Regions from separate parts of the Homo sapiens genome. Here all the other regions are linked to region 1. The links are contacts of gene promoters, found by promoter capture Hi-C in blood cells and fetal thymus (Javierre and others, 2016). All regions are on one chromosome and are shown on one strand. Each heading gives the region's core, a stretch centred on a gene start or on the middle of the fragment in contact. The rest is flanking DNA. Distances are from core to core; before and after follow the strand shown.

What was found. Contacts are between HindIII fragments. The CHiCAGO score rates a contact against its expected background, and 5 or more counts as called.
Region 2: a contact is called between the fragment with the promoter of NXT1 here and the fragment with the promoter of NANP in region 1, in 2 of 17 cell types (non-activated CD4 T cells and naive CD8 T cells). The highest score is 6.9, in non-activated CD4 T cells.
Region 3: a contact is called between a fragment that was not itself captured here and the fragment with the promoter of NANP in region 1, in 1 of 17 cell types (total B cells). The highest score is 5.9, in total B cells.

What each region holds. Positions count from the first base shown.
Region 1 is chr20:25,622,044-25,626,445 of GRCh38, reverse strand. It overlaps NANP (N-acetylneuraminic acid phosphatase), which reads left to right and starts at 2,432. Exons shown (of 2, transcript NM_152667.3): 1 at 2,432-2,587. The coding sequence starts at 2,498. ZNF337-AS1 (ZNF337 antisense RNA 1) reads right to left here and starts at 2,401. Exons shown (of 4, transcript NR_126465.1): 1 at 2,311-2,401. RefSeq lists enhancers at 2,343-2,512, 2,484-3,159 and a silencer at 2,683-2,742. The HindIII fragment of the contact is 6,234 bases long and covers 578-4,402 here.
Region 2 is chr20:23,348,863-23,353,264 of GRCh38, reverse strand. It overlaps NXT1 (nuclear transport factor 2 like export factor 1), which reads right to left and starts at 2,474. Exons shown (of 2, transcript NM_013248.3): 1 at 2,204-2,474. NXT1-AS1 (NXT1 antisense RNA 1) reads left to right here and starts at 1,798. Exons shown (of 3, transcript XR_937384.2): 1 at 1,798-1,935. RefSeq lists enhancers at 1,623-1,672, 1,729-2,600, 2,539-2,833, 2,753-2,892, 2,601-3,473 and silencers at 2,163-2,432, 3,053-3,182. The HindIII fragment of the contact is 12,471 bases long and covers 1-4,402 here.
Region 3 is chr20:23,406,481-23,410,882 of GRCh38, reverse strand. The region is part of intron 1 of NAPB (NSF attachment protein beta); the gene reads left to right. Among named protein-coding and RNA genes, the nearest start is that of NAPB, 13 kb to the left of the region's middle. RefSeq lists enhancers at 2,476-2,535, 2,676-2,735. The HindIII fragment of the contact is 1,648 bases long and covers 1,521-3,168 here.

The DNA.
Region 1 (4,402 bases), core at 1,183-3,682:
CTAGAATTCCTTCCTCTGGGAACCATGGGCTTTGTACTCCATTATTGACCACACTAGTTTTTAATTCCTTCAACAACTTAAATTCCTGTGGAGTGTGTTCATGAATTACCTACTATGGATTATTTGGATCAGGCCTTATGGAAACAGGAAAAGCGCAAGGTCCTAAGGGCTCTCCAGCTATGACAGCAGAGCGTAAAATTCTTTGTGTTGGGGTTTCTATTTCTACTACCGAAGGAGGCAGCACCGATGTTTCTGCAATTGGAGGAGGCGGTATAGGCCAATTTTAATCCTCCCTCTCCTGTTTTTTATTTTCAATTGGTGCTATGTGTGGGACAACAGATTCAGATTTTTATGAACAGCAACAGAATAGGGTGCTCTACACAAAGTTGGACAGGTCATGGAATGCCATTAGACGACTTGTCACAAAAGGAAATCTATCAAACAACGCATCCCCTTAAAAGGATTATACAGACTGCTATGCCTCATCTAACCTTAGATTTTTGCCTAAATCAGCAAACAACAAACTCTGCATGCAAGTCAGAAAAAAAAAAAAAAAGCTGCTCCAATCCTATAAGCTTCCTGTGCCTATAGTTTTATGCTAAATTGATTCTGACATTTCAGGCAATTAAAAGTAACTCCAATTAATTCACCATAATTTTGGCTGATTGCTAATCTAAATGTCCACAATTGATAGGCTAGCCCTATACGTCAATGAGGTAAGCACAGAAAGGAGTCATGGTTTTGAGGAATGCCTATGGGTTTATTCTCCACCATAGCAATGAGATGTCAACTGTGATTGTGCTCCATAAAATATAGAAACTGTAGGTAGTCTAACGCTGCAGAAGAAACTCCTATTAATATAAAGATAAACCAATTAATCTAACCTACTGAACATCAGTGGTCTGTTAAGGAGTTCCACCAGCGAGGTGAGAGACTGGCAATTTTTTTCTCTAAAGAGCTAAATAATGAATATTTTAGGATTTCCAGCCACGTGGTCTCGCTTACAATTACTCAACTCTGTCTGCTTCTGTATGGCAACAGCAGCCACAGACGATACAGAAATGAATGTGTGCGCTGTGTTCTAATGCAACTATGGGCACTAAAATTTCTTGATTTTCATGTGTAACAAAACACTGTTATTTTGATTTTTTAAATCCATTTACAAATGTAAAAATCACCCTTAGCCAGGCGCGGTGGCTCACGCCTGTAATCCCAGCTCTTTGGGAGGCCAAGACGGGTGGATCACGAAGTCAGGAGTTCGAGAACCAGCCTGGCCAACATGGTGAAACTCCGTCTCTACTAAAAATACAAAAATTAGCCGGGGGGTGGTGGCATGCGCCTGTAATCCCAGCTACTCAGGAGGCTGAAGCCGGAGAATTGCTTGAACCCGGGAGGCGGAGGTTGCAGTGAGCCAAGATCGTGCCACTACACGCCAGACTGGGTGACAGAGCAAGACTCCATCTCGAAAATAAAAATAAAAATAAATTAAAAAATAAAAAAAACCACTTAGCTCACTGGCTAAACAAAATCAGGTAATTGGCCTGTACCTGACAGTCAATTTCTGGTCACTAATGATGACCACATATCCAAATTACAGTAAAGGTACCCAAGAGAGACAAAGATTAGAGATTAGTGTTACGATCCCCGTTCTGCCAGCACTAGGAGACAAGAGTTGCTACAGCCCTTCCGCGGGTTTAAAAGGCGGTCGACGTCCCTCAACCTCTTGCTATGCCTGAAAACAACCGAGTAAAAGGCATCCAAAGACCTGAGAACGCAAGGTTTCAGGAAAACAATCAGGAAGGGCAAAACATGGGGCAGCCACTACACAGCCCCTCCGTCTTAGGGCACAGGTACTAAACGGGTTGTAAGAGACCCAAGTCACATCCTTCAGAAACGTGCTGGCGCGGGCCCAGGCAGACAGGGATTCCACCCCGGCGAAGGCCGCAAATGGCGCGAGGCGGGAAGGCGCAGGCTCCACCTTCCCCCGTCCCCAGATCACCTACAGTGACCTGCGCGTACAGGCAGGCTAGGACCGCGGGCGCTCAAGGCAGACATCAGGCCCGCCGACGTCTCCGCGCCGCCCGCCCGGCCACCCGGAGAGCCTGCTGCCCAGCGCCTGGCAGCGCGGACAACCTCTCTCGGGGAGGTGATGACGGTCCCTCGCGCCGGAGGGCCCAGGGAGGAAAGAGATAAGCAGAAAGACACCAGGGAAGAACACCACGCTTCGGACCAACGCCAGCCACAGCCACTGAGAAGTCGCCGCATCCGGCGGCGCCGACACACGTTTCCAGGGCTCTTGAGAGACCATACCCTGGGAGTCTCGCGGGATCTCACTTTTCTCGGCGGCGCAGGGAATGAGACAGATCGCGGGAATTCCACCCGCGCCGGGAGATGGTCTGGTGACTTCGCGGCTCCTCCCACGTCTCTCTGGGCAGTCCGCCTTGCGCATGCGCAGGCGGCGGTGGCAAGGCTACGGTTCGCGCCAGCGGCCGGCGCTATGGGGCTGAGCCGCGTGCGGGCGGTTTTCTTTGACTTGGACAACACTCTCATCGACACGGCCGGGGCGAGCAGGAGAGGCATGTTGGAGGTAACGTCCCCACCCATGGCGCTCCTCTGGGCGGGGTCAGTGCGCCCCGCCCCGTCCTGCACGCTCACCTCCCCTTGACCCCACTTCCACCCCGGCGCCGCGGGCCGCTCTTGCTGGTTGAAACCTGTGGAGCGTGCGGGTGCGGAGGTGGCTGGAGGCGCGCGGGCCCTGCGGGTCTGCTTTCCCTGGCCTGGCGGCCGCTTGTCACCCAATCTCGAGCCCTGGAGCGGCTGCTCGCAGGTGCCTTGGCGCTCGGGACGCGGAAGGGCTCCGTGACGGCTGCCACGGTGGCGGAGGTGCCCGTGGGCGCGGGAGGCGACAGCAAAGCCGCGAGACCAGGCGCTGGTCCCGCCCCCGGTCAGACTGTCGGTGTGGAGCTCGACAGAGGGTCGTGTCCCCCATGCGACTTTCGGGGTTGCTGGGAGGAGACATGGTAGAGTTAGCCCCAGTGTTGACCCAAGAAGGGACACGGCTGTCAGTACCGAGCCTGGACTTAAGCCCTGCTTTAGAGAATTGTCGCCGCAGAACTTCTTCTGGCCTCCCTGGCGGGGTGGTGGTCACCGTGGCTTTCTGACACGTGACACAGCAAAAGCCCGTGCTGCGAGGGCATGCCCTTCCTGAGGCGCTCCTCCGCGGCACTGCCCCTCTACACGCGCGGAGGCGCTTTCAGACCTTCCCGTGTTCCAGCCCCAGTCCACCCCGGCTTCCCTTTCTCTACCTTCAGCTTCAAGGGGAAAGGGAAGGATTTATCAGATGTGGAAAACTCACTTTCAAAAGCTAATTCATCCAAACCTGAGCGCCCCGTCCTCTTCATGCTTCATCAGTTAGTTTTTGTGTCCCTGGATCTTCCACTACCTCATCCGTTTTCTTTTTAGCTGCATTCCACTCCTGCCGCATATTCATGTTTGCCCTATAGTTTTAAAAAAGCTGTAAAAAGGATGCCTCCCTTTGGGCTATTCTTCCTGCTGTAGATGTTGCCTGTCTCTCTTGACAGCCATGTTTTCCCGGAGAAATCTATACCCGTTATCTCCTTGTCTCTACCTCCTATTTATTACTAAATCCATCGTAATGTCGCTTTATCTTCACCGCTAGACTGAAATAGACTTGCTGGATCACTAGGCATTCCCAAAATGCCGGAATCAGTAGACATTTTTAAAGTCTGTCTTCATGACTTTACTGAGGCATTCCACACTTTTAACTTGTTGGCCTCCACCTCAGGGGTGCCACCCTGTGCCATATTGCCTCCAGTATCTCTCGCTGCAGATGTTACATATTTACCTGTGTGTTATTAGTAAGCTGAGTCCTGTGCATTTCAATTAAATTATTGCTTTAGGCCAATTCTTGCTGTAGGCCCAGAGTTTGGGCTTTAAAATCAGACATTTGAATATGAATCACAGCTCTCCCAAAACCTAGCTGAAAGTGCCTCAAGGAATTAACCACTCGGAGCCTTATATCTTCATAAAATGTGAATTATATTAGTCCTCAATAACCCTGTAATACTTGGGAAGCCCATGGTTGCAGTGTCCACTCAGCGAACTATAGCACCTTCCACCCTCGTACGCTGTCTGTCCACCACTGCACATGCCCCGTGCATGTCTCAGTTACAGCTGAACTCATCTCTCACCTAGACTGTTGCTGTGGGCTTGTCTCCAGGTTTACCACATCCAGTGTGTCCTCCACATTCTTGCCACAGCAATATTTTTAAAACAAAGACTAAATCGTATGCCTCCCTGGTCTTTACACCCTCACTTATAGTAGTGCTGTATTTTGTTCAGATATTTCTTAATGCATCTGTCAAAGGATATTTCAATTAAT
Region 2 (4,402 bases), core at 1,225-3,724, 2.3 Mb after region 1:
AATCAATTCCCAGAGGATAAGGAGGCCTGATTGGACCACGAATTTTTAAAATCACATTTTATAAAATAGAGTACATTTGAGTATGGAAGGCCACTCTTTCCTGAATGCTTGCAACAGACATGACAGCCCCTTGGTAAAGACAGTGGACCATGTTGAAGGGAAGAGTGGTCACTGGCCCAATAAAGGCCAACCAAACCAATGAAATGCTCGTCAGCTGCTGAGTCTAGGAAAGTCTATCATGAGCTCACTCAGGAGGAACTGGGAAGGCAGAGAAGGCAGGTTTCTTAAGAGGGTAGAAACACAAATGACATGAGGACAGAATCAAAATGGCAGCCATAATCCCCATGATAAGCTAGAAGCAGCAAACCTCTTGGGTGAGTGGGGATTAGAAGGGAGGACACCCAGCTTACACAGGTACTAACATCCACCAGATAAGTCCTGTGGAGTCACAGTGCCTCCACAGAAAGGCATGTTAGATTTCAAAGCTCTTGGGTGTGTGGACACAGAATATGAACTATAGCTGAAATGTCACATTGTCCCCCAAATAAAAAAGTCCAAAAGCATTTAAAAAATTGACATTTACTTTTTTCAGGGTACAGGTACAACTGTTATGTTCTTTTCTCCATAATTAAAATATTTCACTTAAAAAAAAGAGGACATTACTAAAATAGAGGACATTACTAAAATAGTTTATACTTACAAACTTAGTGAACAGTTTTTTTTCATTTCAAAAAAAAGACTTTTTTTTTTATAATGATTAGCTTATGAAATAAATAAAACATTCCACATAGGGCTGGAAAGAGCCAGGTACTTATAACGGCTGCAAAGATGGTGCATTGCCTCTGGTAAAGGGCTGGCTGGGAGGGAAGCTGTCCTAAAAATGAGCAGTTAAGAGCCAATTTCAGACGTGGGTCTTTCCACGCCCTCCACAGACCTCATAGTTAAGCCTCAACTGTACTCTGGACTGAGTACAGTGGTCCCTCGGTATCTGTGAGGAACTGGATTCAGGACCCCCGAGGATACCAACACCTGCAGATGCTCAAGTCCCTGATAAAATGGTGTACTGTTTGATATAACCTATGCGCAGCATCCTCCTATATACCTTCATCATCTGTAGGTAACTTATAATACCTAATACAATGTAGATGGGATGTAAATAGTTGTTATACTGTATAGTTTAGGAAATAATGACAAGAAAAAAAAAGCCTCTACATGTTCAGTACAAACGCATTTTTCTTTTTCTGAAGAATATTTTTGATTTGAGGTTGGTTGAATCCACCCCACGCGGAACCCACGACTAAGAAGCGCTGTGTTTGCTAAGGGCTTCACACAAATTACCTCATTTAAATGTTACCACAAATGGATGAAAAAGGTATTACTATAACAATTTTACAAATGAGAAAAGGGAAACCTAGGGCTGGATCAAAGTAACGACGGTTAAGTACACTCCTGATCTATCGTTTACAAGACTAGACTGAGGGCTGAAATTTTGTCAATACAACGCTGTCCTTGTACTCGCGTAAGCAAGTCTCCATGAGCACAACTCCAGGACTGCTAGAGTGGGAATTTTCTCCCAGGGACCCCATTTCTCTTTGGCTGGAATTCCCGATCTCCACCTCACTCCTCCTCCCTCCATGGCACCAGTCCCCCCATCATCTCAGAAATGCCCCTCTTCTCCGCCCCTGGCTGTCTTTCCAAACACAATCTAACAACTGGCCACGCCCCCACACACCATAGAAGGACCATCTCCACTTACGGTTTTCAGCTACCTATGAGGTCGTCAGTCCCGCTGTCTGTGTCAAATCAGAAAAAGAACCTGACCGTGAGGACTAGAGTAAGAGGCTGTGAAGACTGCCGCCTCCTCGCACGACCCACACCGTCGAGTGTCCGGAGATGGACGGGAAAAGCTACCACAGTGGCATGGCCTTATTTCCTGTGAGTCGCCTTTAATTCAAACCTAGACAGACGCACGCCCTGCCCGGCCCTCCTCAGACCCGAGAGCTGCGCTGTGAGGGGACGCGCCTCCCCTCGTTGATGAGAATTCGCTGCCACGCTTTTTGCACAGGCGAGAGCCTCACCGCGGCGGCAACTCTACCACGTGGACAAAGGCACAGCCGTGTCTCATTCTCGACAATGGAGGAGGGCGTGGGGTATGCACTAGGGGCTGTCTCGGGGGTCAGACCGCCGGGGGACGGCAACGTACCTGCGCGGCGACGTCCAGGGTCAGCGCGGGCCGCGGCCCCCACGGTCGGGACGCCCCCCGCGTGGGACGCAGTTCCACTGAGGGGCCGGCCGCGGAGGTCACAAGGTGGGCCCACCGAAGCCTCTGGTAGGGGCACGGGAAGAGCCGCCTTTCTCTCCTCCTCCTCCTTCTTGGAGGCTTACTCTGGGTCACCGGGGCCCCAGAGCCGGGGGACTTTCCGGCGCAGTTCCGCGGCTTCCCGCGCGCGGCCAGCCGGTCTCCACGCAGACGCGAGCGCCCCGGCGCCGCCCTCTCCCGCATTCCCGTGACGGGCAGCGAAGTCAGCCAGTGGGACTGCGGGCCGGAAGGCTAACTCCGCCCATGTGTGGCTTATAAGAGGCGGTAGCTTCCGGGAGTGTCACTTTCCCAGAAATCCCGGCAAATCCGCCCTAGAGTTTTCGTTGGTCCAACCGGGCCACAGACTCCGGCCCGTCTGGTTAGGTGGGATGCCTGATTGGGCCAAACCTCTTAGGTCCCGCACCTAGAGCGGGGAGTAGCGTCTGCTTTTTTTTCCGCTGAGCGGAGGCCGCTAGGCTGGAGAGGGAGGGGAAGGTGTGTGGGGTCGGGTGAGATGCTTTCCCCTCGTCCCGCATGCGCCTGTATTGGAGTGATTTCAGTTAAAAGTCTCGTGAAACGTCACCAGTGATGTAGTCACGGCCAGCAGCAGCTGCCTGACCCCGCCGAGGCCTTCCGTCTGGCAACATGTGGGGCGCCGCAATGCTTGAGGCCACGGCGAGGGCAACGCCGGCCGCGCCCCGTGGAAACCGCGTGGCGGAGTGCTTGAGCCGATCGCGCTCTTTAGGAGTTAGGCCACTTAGAGGCGACATCTTGGTGGACACGGAGGAAGCCAGTTTTAGTCAGATGGGAAAAGTAGCTAAAAGTGGGAGGAGACTGGGGCGAGGGTGGGACGTGGGGGAGGCGGGGGCGTGACGGCGGCTCTCCACTGCCCTGAGGCTTGAGGGGCCCCGGGAAACCCGGGCCCGGCTGGGGTTGGGACTCTGTTCTTCCGCGTTCATAGCTACGATTCAGCTGTTCTGGAATGAGAACTGGATTTTTACTGAACTTTACGAACAGGCTCAACAGGATGTAACCATTCAGTGTGGAGGCATGAGAAACTATAGCTTGTAAATTAAAAGAAAAACCTCATTTCTTTAGACAACATTTTCAGCTCCATCTGCTGGTCTGAGGCTGAATAATTAATTGAAAAGCCAGGAGAGAAATGGGGCTAGATGAAGTGAGGTAGTTTAACCTGTGCTTTCTTGGCGTCCCGTCGGCTCCCTTTGCTTGCATTCCTAAGAGAATCTTGGTCTCAGATTTCAGGACAAGTGGAAAACAGTTGGGCTATTTAGTATAGGCCACCCCTTCCCCCCCGCACCCTCTCCCCCCACACACTTCAGTTAAGTAGGTGGAAAGTTTGGATTATTAAAAAGACACGTTGGAGGCTGAGCAGAGAGTGTGAAAGAGCATTTTCGGGGCTTTGTGAACTAACATGGCCTTTTGAACCCCAAGGCAGTGATACTTGGATTGATCTAAATCAGCGTGGATGGAATGGAAGTGGGAATGCGTTGATTTACTGCACGCTCAGTAGTTTGGATGCTGTGCTGCTTTTGTTTCCTGTATAATAAGCCCCTTTAATTTGTTTCACATAACTTATTGGGGGAGGTACCATTATTTCTGATTTTATAGACAAGGAGGCTGACAAAGAACCATCCTGGTGTCACAGGGTCGATTCATACCTAGAAAAGTATGAAGATTCATACCTAGAAAAATTAGAAGAACATTAATGCAGCTCCAAGGCCTTTTAAAAATGCGAGACTTTAGCTTTGAAAGGCAGCTGTTCTGCCTTTTAGGTTTGTGGGGTCTGCCTTTTAGGTTAGGGTCCTTTTAGGTTTGTGTCTCCAGCATATAAAATTGTGCCTGACCCAAAGCAAGGGCTCAATAAATACTGTTTGAATGAACAGACAAACCTGGGTTCAAATCATGCTCCTCAACTGCACAGTTGTGATGATCTGTCCTCAACACTCACTCCCTGCTCTCTTTGGAAGCAACCCTGGCTTTTATTCCCCCTATTTGTAGCAGGACAAGCCGCAGACAAAACCCCTCAGAAACCAAGTTAAAGAAGGAAGGGCTTTATTCGGCCAGGGAACTTCAGCAAGACTC
Region 3 (4,402 bases), core at 1,095-3,594, 2.2 Mb after region 1:
CCATGATGAGTTTTTAAATTTCTAGCTTATGATGTACTTTCATATCTGTTTAATAATATTTCAGTCATATGGAATTGTTTTCCTGTGCCTTGTGATTGTTTTAGGGAACGTATTTTAATTCTTGTTTCTTTTTTGTTTTGGGGCTTTTTTGGTATGGCTCATTTTTATTTTAATATTTGTTCCTTTTTTACAACTTTTATTTTAGAGTCAGGGGGTACATATGCAGGTTTGTTAACTGGGTATATTGTGTGATACTGAGGTTTAGGGTACAGATGATCCTGTCACCCAGATACTGAGCATAGTACCCAATAGTTTTTCAACTGTTTCTCTCCCCATACCCCGCTAGTGTCCCCAGTGTCTACGGTTGCCATTTTTATGCCCATGGGTATCCAGTGTTTAGCTACCACTTATAAGTGAAAACATGCGGTATTTGGTTTTCTGTTCCTGCATTAATTCACTTAGGATCTTCTTTCTTATGTAGTAGCTTCATATGGATGCTGTTTCTCCTTTCTGTTTAGTGTAGAGAGTCACAGAGTTTCTTGGACACACAATAGCATGTGTTTCTGTGATAGGAGATGAGCGGTTTGTGTGACTTCATGGGTTTCTTAGTTTAAATGCTGCGTTGTGTAGGTACAGTTAAGTGCGGTTTCTTTAATGAATGGTGCTGTGGAGGGGTAGGTTTGTGTGACTTCTAATTCTGTGATACTCTTTTGTTTCAAGAACGTATTTCCATCACTTGCCTTCTTTCCTTTCACTGCCAAACCTCCATAGAGCTGCCCCCACCTTCTAAGTTGCCTTCTCCCAGAAGCAGTGTCTTCTGGAAACTGCAGCCTGTGGCAAAGCCCTTCTATTCAGTTCCCAACTGCAGTGCTCTAACCTGCCAGGTCTTCCACCTGGTCTGGGGTGTTTGCCCACCCTGGTAGGGCACTTCCTTGCTGAGAGTTCTTCCCTGGACAATGATTGCCAGGTTAAACTCCCCTCTCCTGTCGACAGACGCCCCTCTGACTGGCAGCAGAGGCAGTGTTGCTAGCTCTGGTAGTTTTGGATTTTTTATTTCCTAAATTATATTTAATGGAGGCTTGCTGAATACTGCCTCCTTTTGCTGTAGGCACGGATTATGGGTGGTTGTGTATGCTTTTTGTTGATCTATAAGGTTTTTGGAGGATGTGTGGATATATTTATCTAAGCAGCCACCATGATTTTTTGGGAATCACATGTCTCATCAGTATTTTCTGAAGACTGAAATTCAGCTTAAATTTTTATAAAGACTGAAATTCAATTTAAAAACTGCTCTTGGTAAATCAGGTTGTATGTAACAGTCATTTCTGAATTAATCTAGCAGTTACCATTATCTTTCTTAAGTATTTAAATATGTTTGTTTTGTTTTATAAATAGGTCCAGTGTATACCTATTTCTTCTCTATAAAGATGACTACTCCCCATATAAAGTTGAGGCATTAGAAAACTATTGTCAAAATAAAGTCTAACTAGTTTTCTTTGTTATACTTGTTCTCATAAGCTTTATTTCAGGAAATTGTGCTTAAACACAAATACTTTGGTCACAGGCCTTAAATGTCTCTGATTATTTTCTCTGTTTGAGAATCTATGATTTTTGTCCTTAATTAAGCAGAAGTAAACTGAAAAGTTCTTAGAAAATTGATTCCAAAAGCTCAAGGCCACTGAGACAGCGCTCCCCTTACTGGTACAGTGCTAGCTGGCTTGGTGGAATTTTTCTTTCTCTCCAAGGCCAAGACAGGCCTGGCTGCTCCAGGGAACTGGAGGCTGGTAAATAAATGATACTGTTCATTTGTAGGTGGTCTGACTCAAGCCCATGCCCTGGGCCTTTCCACCATACCTTGGGCTTCTGCATTACCGATTTATAAAAGAACAGTGAAACATTTAAATGCTGCCTTTTGCTGTAAGAATTCAAATTAGCATTCTGGAGAGTATCTCCCTCCTACCTTTTTAAAAAAATAGTTTTTAATTGACACATTGTATTGCATATATTGATGGGGTACAGTTTGATTTTTTGATATACGTCTGTGTTGTATAATGATCAAATCAGGATAGTTAGCATACTCATCACCTCATACATTTATCATTTCTTTGTGTTGAGAACATGTAAAAATATCTCTTCCAGTTGTTTTGTGTCCTTCTGGGGCCTCTGCATCTCCTCCACGGAAGAAATCTCTACTTTTGCATCACATAAAAGATTTGTACTGTTTTAAAATATATTAAGCACTGAAATAAAGTAATCTTGGAAGGGTTAAGTTTACCTAGGAAAGCCCCAAGTTTTTAGAATCTGTGGAGTTTCCAGAAGTGAAGCATCAGGTGGAAATAAATTGTTTATAGAGCCTATAATATCACAGAGTAGTTGTGTATGGCAGAGGCACGTTCAGACAGATTTTGAATTTTCCTCTCTTCTGGATTCTTTCTACATTTGCTTATTATTTTGAGGCATACATGGGAAACCTTAAAAAATGAATGTGGACAGTTTGTTCCATCCAGACACTAAGCATCAGCCTTGTTATTGTGGCCTGTGTGCTAGGCCCTGTGCTGCTTCCTCTTCCCCAGAGCATCAGTCTAGTGGCTAAGGAGATACTGCTGGTAAATAATGAGAAGAAGGAGGTACCATGCTTTGTGGGGATCCCCCCAGGCTCCCCACACTGGGCAAGTCCCTTTTCAGTCTTTTGGGGTGGCTTGACACACCCCTTCATGGCATCCTGATGTTAGAGCTGAATTTTGCCTCTGGTTCTACATGCTTATCTTCATAGTACTGTCACTGTCACTTTTTGTGGTATTTCTACTCTAATATCTTGTGATTTTAGAGGCAACTTTATTTCTATCTCAGGAGTTGTCAGCCTTTTTCTTTGAGGTACATCTCATGATGTGTGTGTCATTAGTTCTCACAATTCTACGATGTCTCCTTCCTCCCACCCACAGTTTTAAAATAGTACGGACTATAGTTGTCATAGTTTTACAATGCTCTGCAATAGTTATTATTCAGGATGGGGGAAATCAAGATTTTAGATTATTTGAAGATGAATTGGTTTTCACAGCTCTGCTGTTCACTGGCTCCTGGTGGGACATTTGTGGCTTTGACAATGTTTCCTCAGGGGAACATGGGGAATTGATAGGCTTTTTCTCAGACCCTTCTGGCCGTGAAGCTTGATATTCTTTCCTCAGTGTCGTGACCTCCTTGTGGGCAAGAAGTTTATTTCCTTAGTGTTTTCTGGCACATATGGATCTCAGTAAATATTTCCTGAATAAGTACGGTCAAGAAGAAGAGAGTCTGCCTTGCCTCTGGAATGCAAGGGTGGTTCACCTGGGCCAGCCAGGTGGCAGTGGTTTTTGTGCTAGCTGGGCAGTGTTTTCTTTCACGGTGGGGAAAATGTTTTCTTCTTCCAAGTCAGATTCCTGTAATACAAAAAAATAGTTAATTTAGCTCAGTTTAGCTTCTTAATGTCAATTGAGTGCTAAGTGTTTAACTTATGTTGCTGCGTAATATGGATTCCCCACAGAATATTTTTTCCAAGGATCTTCTGCCTCACTGTGAGACCTCTGGATAACAGTTGTTACTTTGAATGCAAATTCTGAATACTTGTCCATAAAATTTACAAAAAATTAACTTTCACATAAAACAAAATAAGCATCCGGTGTAATTTCAAAAGTACCTTTTTTCAGGAAGTTTTAAAGTTATGGTCAGTTTATGACAAATGGGTTTTTAAAGTGAGGCTACCTCTGGCAATTCTGTTTCAGGAGACATGAGGATCTCATGGTTTAGCAAAGTTCAAAGGTCACTGAACTTGAAGTCAAGTGTCAGGTACACTACTGACCTTGGCTGGGTAGCCTTGGATAAGCCATTGTCCTCTAGATGCCATTTTCTCTTCAGTAAAATAGAGATAGTGTCTTTCATGGTTGTAATAATGAAAATGACATAACATATATGGAAATATCTAGCATAAAACCTGGAATAATGTAGGAACTCTGTTAATTCTAGCTGTATCCTGTCTCTGAAAATAAGTGGATAAAGTACATTTTAATTAAGCTAGTTTTATTTAGAAACCTTTAATAAGAATGATTGAACTATAATTACAGTTCAAGATTCCCAGTACTCTTTAGAAAAACAAGACCCAAGAAAGTAGCAAGACTTTACGCCAAGGGAGGTATGGCTAAGGTTGAGAATGTTTTCATGTGAGGAATTTTCCATTTAGGAAACTTATTAGCTGTTTTTCTTTTTTTTTAATGTGTAGATTTGAAGTGGAGGGAAAGGGACATGAAGGTGTGAGAGAAAGCTGTAGCTTATTCTGACACTTCATTTTTGGTATGGCTTGTTGCCATTCTATCTTTCACTGTGTAACATAGTCCCCAAAGGTTTTTGTTTGTTTTTTTGATTTTTTTTG